3 separate regions of the Homo sapiens genome follow, and all the other regions are linked to region 3. Evidence: promoter capture Hi-C in human tissues and cell types (Jung and others, 2019). All regions are on one chromosome and are shown on one strand. The core of a region is centred on a gene start or on the middle of the fragment in contact, and the rest is flanking DNA. Distances in the headings are between cores, read along the strand shown. Region 1 holds the start of EPHX3 (epoxide hydrolase 3). Region 2 holds the start of CASP14 (caspase 14). Region 3 holds the start of CYP4F22 (cytochrome P450 family 4 subfamily F member 22).

Region 1 (2,845 bases), core at 331-2,830, 280 kb before region 3:
TGTTGACAGGTATACAGAGAATTGAAAACACAGACACATGTCCCTGCCCCCTTGCACATAAGTACATCCCAGTGTCCCGGACTCCCACACACACCTTGGTACACCGACATGGGGGCACCACTGACCACAACCATCCGCTCGACCAGGGATGGGTAGTAGATGGAGAAATGCCAGGCAAGGAGGGCACCCCAGTCATGGGCCACAAGGATGCACTTCGAGTAACCTGTGGGAATTCAAGGAGCTCGCATAAGTGAGGTGCCCAGTAGGACTGAAGCAGGGATGGGGGAAGTAGGTTCCAGCAAGGAGAAAGCGGGGGTATGCGTGTGTGCAGGATGAGGGAGGCCACGCCTAGGATGGGGGTATGTCTGCACCCAGGCCTAGGATGACATCTTTGATGTCCACCAGCAGCAGGTCGATTGTGTAGCAGTCCACATCCCGAGGTGCATCCGAGGGGCCATAGCCTCGCAAGTCCACAGCCACAACATGGAAGCGGCTCTGGAACTCCCGGAGCTGGTAACGCCAGGAGAACCTGCCAGGCGGGCGAGGGAGGGAGGCTGAGTCAGGGCCCTCAGGTTGCACCTGCACCCTACGCACATCAGCAACCATTGGCAAACCCTCCTTCCTGCTCTAAACTTCCCCTAAAAGGAGGATGGGGAATCCCAGGCAGAGGCAGAGGCTGAGGCTGAAGCCAGCTACACCCTGAATCCAGGGAACTTCAATCAACCTCAATACCCCTTTGTCCTGTCCCTTCAGGGCCTAGGGATCCTGGGTATGCTGGCTCAGTACCCCTATCCCCATCTATGTTCAGCTTGTCCCGATCTATACAGCCCTCCTCCCTGCCTCTTGGGAGCCCAAGCTCCACCTGCCCCCGAGTCCCGTGGGCCTCAGGCCCCTGGCCCCAGACGTACCAGTTCTCAGGGAAGCCGTGCAGAAACAGCATGAGGGGTCCGTTACCTCGTCCAGCCGAGACATAGTGCAGACGCAGGCCCGAGCTCTAGGGGGAGGGCACAGCCTGAAGCCTGGGGAACCCTCTCTCCCGAGGCTTGAACCGTCTCGACCCCACGCGACCCCGCAGCCCCGATAGCGCCCCCGTGCGATCACCTTGAGGTTCAGGAAACCGTGCTCACCCAGCGAGGGGTCGCTCAGGCAGGCGGGGGACGCGCTCCGACGGCGCCCGCAGCAGCCGCGCCGGGGCCGGCACAGCACGTGCGTGAGCGCTATGCAGCCGTAGACCGCCGCGGCCACCAGCGCCACCGAGAACACCAGGCTCCACATGAAGGCGCGCAGCAGCTTCAGCGACAGGCGCGACGGCGCCAGCAGCGCGGTCACCACCAGCTCCGGCATGTCGCCGCGCTCCGGGACCACGGCGGCGCTGCCGGCCAGGGGCACCTGCAGCAGCGGCGAAGCGGTGTCAGGGCTCAGGGGCCCATCGCCCTTGGCCTGGGGCCCCTCCGTGCCGTCGGGATTTGTGGGACGCGCTGAAGGAAGAGGCGGGCGGCTCCGACAGAAAACAGCCAGAGCGCACCACTCACCTGAGTGCCAGGTAAACACCTGGGCGCGACAGGGACAGGAAACAAGGGTAGGGTGCGGAGGCTGGGGAGGAAGAGGTTGGAAAGGGGGGAAATAAATGGGCGGGGCCTAGCAGGTCCTGTGCGGGGCTTAGGGCCGGGGCGGGGCCCAGGAAGACTCAGCAGCGGGTGGGTGAGGGTCTAAAGGCGGCAATTCCGGGCCGGGTGCGGTGGCTCACGCCTGTAATCCCAGCACTTTGGTAGGCCGAGGCGGGCGGATCACCTGAGATCAAGAGCTCGAGACCAGCCTGGGCAACGTGGTGAAACCCCGTCTCTACTAAAAATACAAAAATTAGCTGGGCGTGGTGGCGGGCGCCTGTAGTCCCAGCTACTTGGGAGGCTGAGGCAGGAGAATCGCTTGAACCCGGGACGTGGAGGTTGCAGTGAGCTGAGATCGCGCCACTGTACTCCAGCCTGGGTCACAACAGGGAAACTCCGTCTCAAAAAAGAAAAAAAAAAAAGGCAATTCCGAGCCCAGACAAACCTTAAGGAGGGGATCCTGGATCTTCAGTTAAGTGGGCGACACCTGGAGTGAGGGGCGGGGCATATGCAGAGTAGGTGCGGCCTACAAGCCAAAAAGGAGAAAGAGTTGGAATGGTGGGCCTGGCTTATGCGGGTGGGCGGGGAGAGGGTGGATCCTAGAGGAGGTGAGGCCTAACATTGGGCGAAGAAGGCGGGAGCCTGGGCCAATGAGCTGACGGTAGGCCGGGGAGGGGGCGGTGGGGTGGGGTGGGCAATGGGCAATGAGACGGAGGGCGGGGCCGGGACCTAATATGGCGGGTCAGGAGGGTCTGGAAGACGAAGAAGAGGGACAGGCAATGCCAGGTCTAGGACTAGGAGGGAGGCGCGGGCGGTATTAGCGGCTGGAGGAGGCTTCGGGAGGCCCGGCCGACGGCCGCCGCCTGGTGCTACCCACCCAGGGGCGCGCGACCCTCCCTTCGGTCTGGCTCCAAAGACCTAGCAGCACTGACTTCACCCAGCTGTGGTTCCAACGGCGGGTCCAGCGGCCTCGGCCCGGCGCCGTCCTCCTGCTGGCCCAACAGGCCCGCCAGCCCGCCCCTGTACGTCTGTGATTGGACGGCGGCGGCCACTGATGTTCAAGCGACAGGTCCTGGCCCGGGAGCCAATCTGCAGGTGTTGAGGCCCAGGCTCCGAGAGCGGGCCGAGGAGGCGTGGATACCCTGATTCCTAGGGGGCAGGCCTGGTTCCCCCGAGGAGGACCCGGCCTATGAATGACTGGAGTTCTGGGGTTCTGGCCGAAAGAGGAAGTGGGACAG
Region 2 (3,268 bases), core at 199-2,698, 460 kb before region 3:
AGAGGAAGAGTTCGTTCATGAGGCAATTAAGCGACGAGGTGGTAAAACAGGTCTCAAATTCTCCTCCCCAAAAATAGGGTTTGAGGGTGCTTATGGGATAGAAAACGGGGTGATCTAAAGTACGGAGAAAGGTGACTGGCAGGTAGGGAAGGTGAGGTAATCAGAATTTCTGAGCAAGCATGGTTGAGCTACATGGCTTTAGATAGGACATTTGTGCAAAAAATAGCATTTAGCATGATCTGAAGGTGGAGTTTACGGCCCTCTGATATCAGCTACCCACATAGGTGCAGTTGAAGGGTCAGTGATCTCCACTGGCTTAAACTAAACAAGAGCTGCCTCCTACCTAGTTCCTGAAAAACAACTTTAAGCACCCATTACTATAGTGTCCCACAGACAAAAATGTTATCTGTAAGGAAGCCAGTGGGAGTTTAGTTATGCATTATTTGGCTACGTGACTTGCTAGTGGCGCTTTTAAGATCAACTATAAGTAAGCAATTAAAAGTAAGTAAGCAATTAAACGCAAGGCAGATTAAGTCTGGAGGGCTTAATCAGGTTCGCCTTTGGTTTCACTATTAACATAAGAAATAAAATGAAACAAAATGGCTGAAAAATAATAAGAGGAGGAGGAAGAGAGGAATCATCATGATGCATCAGTTAAGGCAACTGGGCTGGAACATTTTAGGGGTTGTTTGTTTGTTTTTATATTTAAGACAGAGTCTTGCTCTGTCACCCAGGCTGGAGTGCAGAGGCACAATCTTAGCTCGCTGCAGCCTCAAACTCCTAGGCTCAAGCCAGCCTCCTACCTCAGCCTCCTGAGTAGCTAGGACTATAGGTATATGCCATCATTTTTATTATTATTATTATTTTAGTGACAGGGTCTCACTATGCCCCGGCTGGTCTCAAACTCCTCACCTCAAGCGATCCTCCTGCCTTGGCCTCCCAAAGCGCTGGGACTACAGACGTGACCCACCACACCTCACCCCTTATAGGGTTGAATGCCAACTGTGCCAATTGCTGACCTTGGGCAGTCATTTCACCTCTATGAGCCTCAGTTTCTCCATCTGCAAAATGGGAGCAAAAATACTGATCTGTCTAGACTCTTGAAGACTCGATGAGATAATAACTAAGTGAAGTCGGTGTTATCTACACAGTGGAAGGTGAGATGAATAAACTAGGCATAATGATGATGGTAATAACCAGATGGGCTGGCTATGGGATGGGGGTTGGGAGAGGTTGTGGCTGGGCTGGCACAGACATCTGACTCATTTAGACTCTCTGCCTAGGCCACCTTTGCCAGAGGGAGTCCCCTCAGCCTTGCGATCACTCATCCCATTGGCGTTGGCTCCATTTCCACACCACAGCTGTGTGCCAAGGGTGTGTCATGAGGTTTCTTGAGTGACAGAAAACTCACCGACAATAAAGGGCCAGGTGATTGTGCCACCCGATTCATAGACCAGGCTTCTCAGGAGAAACCCCGGGAGATTCCACACTGTCAGCCCCTTCTCCAAGATCAGTACGTGGGCCTGACTCCTCCTCGGTGCCCAGCTCAGTATTGGCAACTAGGAGAGTAGTGAGATTGAACTTGGCCTTGAGGAACAGCTGCCTCTAGAGTTGGTAAGTGATTTGGTGGATATTAGCCTCTCTCTCTCTCTCTCTCTCTCTCTCTCACACACACACACACACACACACACACACACACACGCACATACACACATACGCTCCCTCTCCCTTCATGAATTAATGCTCTGGCCAGTTTTGGCAGAATGGAAGAAATTTCCATCCATCCCCTCTTTCTTTTCATCTGTTCATTTTTTTCTTATTTGTTTACTCAGCAAATTCTCTCCAACACCACCTCTGTGCTCCCTGCCACACTGTTGGCCATGATGGAGACAGAGATAATGAAGTCAGGCTTTCAGTCCTGAAAACTGAGCTGCCAGTTCAGCCATGAGAGTAAGAATCAAAAACACTGCTGTAATTCAAGTAGGAGCAAGCAGAGCTGTGAGAGTCCAGAGAAGGAAGAGGAAAGTTCCAGGAGGTCAAGAGGGATCCTAAAACCTACCTGGGTCACCATTGCTGTTAAGCACCTAGAGCTCTCCCCAGGTCCTTTGCGGATGGGAAAATCGAGTCTCAGAGAGGAGAGTGAGATGCCGAAGGTCACACAGCTGGGAAGGGACTGAGGCAGGATTCGGTTCTGGCTCCAGGGCTATGCTCCTTCCACTTCCTCCCTCACAATCTTTGGCTCCTCTTTCGTCACAGCACTTGCTGTGTGTGTGTGTGAGTGTGTGTGTGTGAGAGAGAGAGAGAGAGAGAGAGATTTAATATTCATTTCTGTCACAGACTAGAGCTACAGAAGGACAGAAAGTCAGGGAGCATGTCTGTCTTACTTAATGGATTCTAAGTGCATAACACATAATAGATACCCAGAAAATATTTGCTGGGTAGGTGGGTGGGTGGGTGGATGGATTGATGGATGGATGGATGGATGGGTGGGTGGGTAGATGGATAAGTAAATAGGTGGATGGATAGATGGAAGATAGAGATGATGGATGAAGGAATGGATAGAAGGAGGGCTAGATGGAGGGATAGTTGGAAGATAGAATAGATGGAGGGATGGAAGACAGAGAGAGATAATGGATGAATGGATGGATGGATGGATGAATGAATGAGTGGTTGGATGAATAAGTGGATGGATAGATAGATGGATGGGTAGATAAATGGGTTGATGGAAGAATGAATGGGTATATGGGATGACTGATTAATAGATGGGTAGACAGACGGATGAATAGATGTGTGAGTGGGTGGATGGATGGATGGATGAGTGGATAGATAGGTAAGTGGAAAGATAAATTGGTGGATGGGTTGATGAATAAAAGGATGGATGTTAAATTGGATTGATGGATGACTAGATAGATGTGCGGGTGGAAGGATGGGTGGATGGGATGACTGATTAATAGATAAGTAGATGGACAGATGAATAGATGGAAGGGTGAGTGGGTGAATGGATGGATAGATGATGAATTAATGGATAGATGGTAGATGGATAGATGAATGAATTGATGGGTGACTGGATAGATAGATGGATAAAAACATAGATGAATGGATGGTTGATGGGGGAAGGCATAGCAGATATTATGCCACCAAAATTGTCAGAGAAGGATCTAGATAGAAAAAAAAAAAGCATTCCCGGTGGGGTGCAGTGGCTCACATCTATAATCCCAGCACTTTGGGAGGCTGAGGTGGGCAGATCATGAGGTCAGGAGATCAAGAC
Region 3 (2,933 bases), core at 27-2,526:
ACCAATCAACTAACAGGGGGCACCTCCCCTACTCAAGCACCATCCATGGCTCCCCACTGCCCACCAGATCAAGATCCAGCCATTCAAACTGGCCTTCACAGTCAACTCCTGCATCCCTCCAGCCTCCACACCTCTCACACTCCAAGGCCAGGGAAAGCCATCTGCTAAGTCACACCCTCCAGTTTCTCTGTGCTTGAGCTCTACCCCCTCTCCTGCACTTGTTGAAATCCAACCTCTCCATGCAGTCCCAGCTCAAGTGTCACATCCTCCACGTCGCCTTCCCTGACCTCATGTCTGCCTCCTCCAAGCAGCAAAACTTCAATTACTTGTGTCTCCTCTTCTTCACCAGGAGACATGCCCCACACCTCCCACGCCCTCTTTCCAAGGGCCCAGCACCAAATGAGAGCGTATTCTTAGAAAAAAGAGGGATAAGGAAGTCTTCTAAGTTTACCACCTGCTGGGGCAAGTGGAGATTCTTGTCTTCTCATCTGTCTGCCCACGTGCTAAGGTCAGCCACACATCCACCCACCGACTCCGGAGGACAGACACATCCAGAGGCGGAGCTGACTCTGTCTCCACACATCTGGAGTAGACGGGTTGGCCAAGGACAACATCCTGGTCAGAGGGTCAAGGTGTCTGGCAGTGGGTGGGGAGGAGTGGCGGAGGGCGGGTTGGCGGGGAGCAGAACCAGTCTGGTGCTGCTTGTTGAGGTTGGAGGTCTTCCTGGAGGAAGAGGCTGCAGAGCCTCCAGGGGTGGGTGCCGGGGAAGCTTAGGCCCAGGATCCAGAGAGAGGGGAAGGGCTGGTTCCCAAGGGCTGGTGGAGCCAGAGAATTCCTGAGGGCCCCAGAGGAGGCTTCTCGGGGGGGTCAGTGGGGCCCCAGGGGGTGATGGTTTAGAGATCGCTGTCCAAGCTTGGGAGCAAACCTGGAAGTAAGGGCCATGGGGGGTGTTGGTGTGGGAGGAGTGTGGTCCAGAGCGGGACTTGGGCGCTAATGCGGCCCAGCAGTGGCAGGAGGGCGGGGAGCCTGATGGTTTGGGACTTCTAGGTGTCCAAGTCTCTGTCTCTCTTCATCTCTCCATCTCAGTCTCAGTCTCTCTCTCTTTCCATCGCTCTCCACCCCTCCACACGCCTATTTCTTGTTCTCTCCTTTTCTAGGGGGCAGCGCTGGAGTCCCCGCCCAGAACCCTGCGGGAGCCCGGGGCGGGATGTCCGGGGGCGGACCCCTCGGCACGGCCGGGCGGGGTTAAAGGGTTGGGCCGTGGGACGGCGCGGTCAGATCCCAGGTAGTGGCGCCGGTGGATCCGGATCGAGGGCAGGAGGCTGAGACCCGCGGGTGAGTGCGCGCGTGGTGAGGGCTGTAACCTGAGCGCGGCCGCGGCGCTGCGCTGGAACCCGAGGCTCGCGCGGTTCGGTGCTGGCGGGGCAAGGGCGAAGGTCTGCGCGCGGCGGCGGGCGGGGCGCAGCCGGCCACGGGGACCCCCCCAGGACCCAGGACGGGGCTGCATGCCCGGGGCACTCGTGGGGAGAGGGGCACGTGGGTGTGTCCCCGACGTTTGCTGCATTTGTGAGTTGTTTTCTTTTTTTTTTTTTCTGTGTGCGCCTCGGAGTCCTAGGCGCATCCTTTTCTCTGGGTATCTGTGATGGGCAGGGGGCCTCCAAAAGACCCCTCTGGTAGTCAGGACATCCCAGATGGGTTCAAGCCCCGCCCTGGGACGCCTCTTTGGGGCTGAATGGGGATTCGCCCTGAGATTTCACCACTGCACGTTGTCTTGACGGGGAGGTTGTAGTACATTCAACCGATGGGGTTAGGCTTGTGGTTCAACTGCTATCAGGAACCCTCTGCCCATCCATGCCAGACGCAGAGCCCCTCTATGAAAAGACGGTGTTCTTCTGGCCCCGAGAGTTGGCTCTGAGGGTTGTGTGAGGTCCTGGGGTTGGTCCCAGGTGATCTTCGTCTGATAGATGCTGGAAGGAAGATGTTTTCTGGCCTCCCAGGGGCCTGGCCCAGCCTGGGTATGCAAGTTGGCCGAGGCTGGCCACCTGGGGAGTCGCAGGCTGGAGAGGCCTAGGCTCAGGGCATCTCTCCTGGTTCATCTGCCCGCTCACAGCTCATTCATGCACTCATTGTGAGTCTCACCGCCCTGTAGGCAAAGGAGATGGCCAGGGCTGGCTGCGTACCCGAAATTCCTCCTACCCTGTGCCCCTTGCTCCACCCCTTATTTCTAGGTCCTGGAGCTGTGCCCAGCCAGGGCTGGCAGCATCAAACTCCTTCTTGTGTAACTCCAAACCCCAAAGAGAAGGAACCTCCCCAAATCTTCCCTACCACCCTCATTTTACAGGCACGGAAACTGAGGGCCAGAGAGAAGAAGCCTGTGCCTGTGGATACCCAGTGCCCAGTGGGAGAGCTGGGATTTGAAAAAACAAGCCCTGTTTGACCCCAAAGCCTCAGTCCACTTTCCGATGTCCCCGGCATCACCAAATGGCCCAGCTTGGGTTTCTGAACAGTAACATTAACTCTGGCCTGGTGTCTGGCGGTGACCCAGGTTGGTATCTGCAGAGGGGCTTGGATGACTTGAGAGGCATTCAGGGAATGGGACCCATCTCTCCTTCCTTCCTTCCTTCCTTCCTTCCTTCCTTCCTTCCTTCCTTCCTTCCTTTCTTTCTTTCCTTCCTTCTTTCTTTCTTTCTTTCTTTCTTTTCTCTGTCTCTCTCTCTTTCTTTCTTTCTTTCTTTTTTTGTTGTTGTTGTTGAGACAGGGTCTCACTTTGTCACCCAGGCAGGAGTGCAGTGGCATAATCATAGCTCACTGCAGCCTCGATCTCCTGGGTTCAAGCAATCCTCCTACCTCAGCCTCCTGAGTATGGAGGACTACAGGCATGCACCACCACTCCTGTCTACTTTTTGTATTTTTGGTAGGGATGGGGTTTCACC

What was found. Contacts are between HindIII fragments. The study calls those that stand out against the background at their distance.
Region 1: a contact is called between the fragment with the promoter of EPHX3 here and the fragment with the promoter of CYP4F22 in region 3, in 1 of the 25 tissues and cell types used here (spleen).
Region 2: the fragment with the promoter of CASP14 here is called in contact with the fragment with the promoter of CYP4F22 in region 3 in 5 of the 25 tissues and cell types used here (dorsolateral prefrontal cortex, liver, mesenchymal stem cells and 2 more).

Annotation. Positions count from the first base shown.
Region 1 is chr19:15,230,868-15,233,712 of GRCh38, forward strand. EPHX3 (epoxide hydrolase 3) reads right to left here and starts at 1,581. Exons shown (of 7, transcript NM_024794.3): 1 at 1,102-1,581; 2 at 909-994; 3 at 372-529; 4 at 95-223. The coding sequence starts at 1,344. RefSeq lists an enhancer at 1,331-1,832 and a silencer at 2,171-2,330. The HindIII fragment of the contact is 16,546 bases long and covers 1-2,845 here.
Region 2 is chr19:15,048,032-15,051,299 of GRCh38, forward strand. CASP14 (caspase 14) reads left to right here and starts at 1,449. Exons shown (of 7, transcript NM_012114.3): 1 at 1,449-1,614. The HindIII fragment of the contact is 29,360 bases long and covers 1-3,268 here.
Region 3 is chr19:15,507,249-15,510,181 of GRCh38, forward strand. It overlaps CYP4F22 (cytochrome P450 family 4 subfamily F member 22), which reads left to right and starts at 1,277. Exons shown (of 14, transcript NM_173483.4): 1 at 1,277-1,335. RefSeq lists an enhancer at 921-1,421. The HindIII fragment of the contact is 20,579 bases long and covers 1-2,933 here.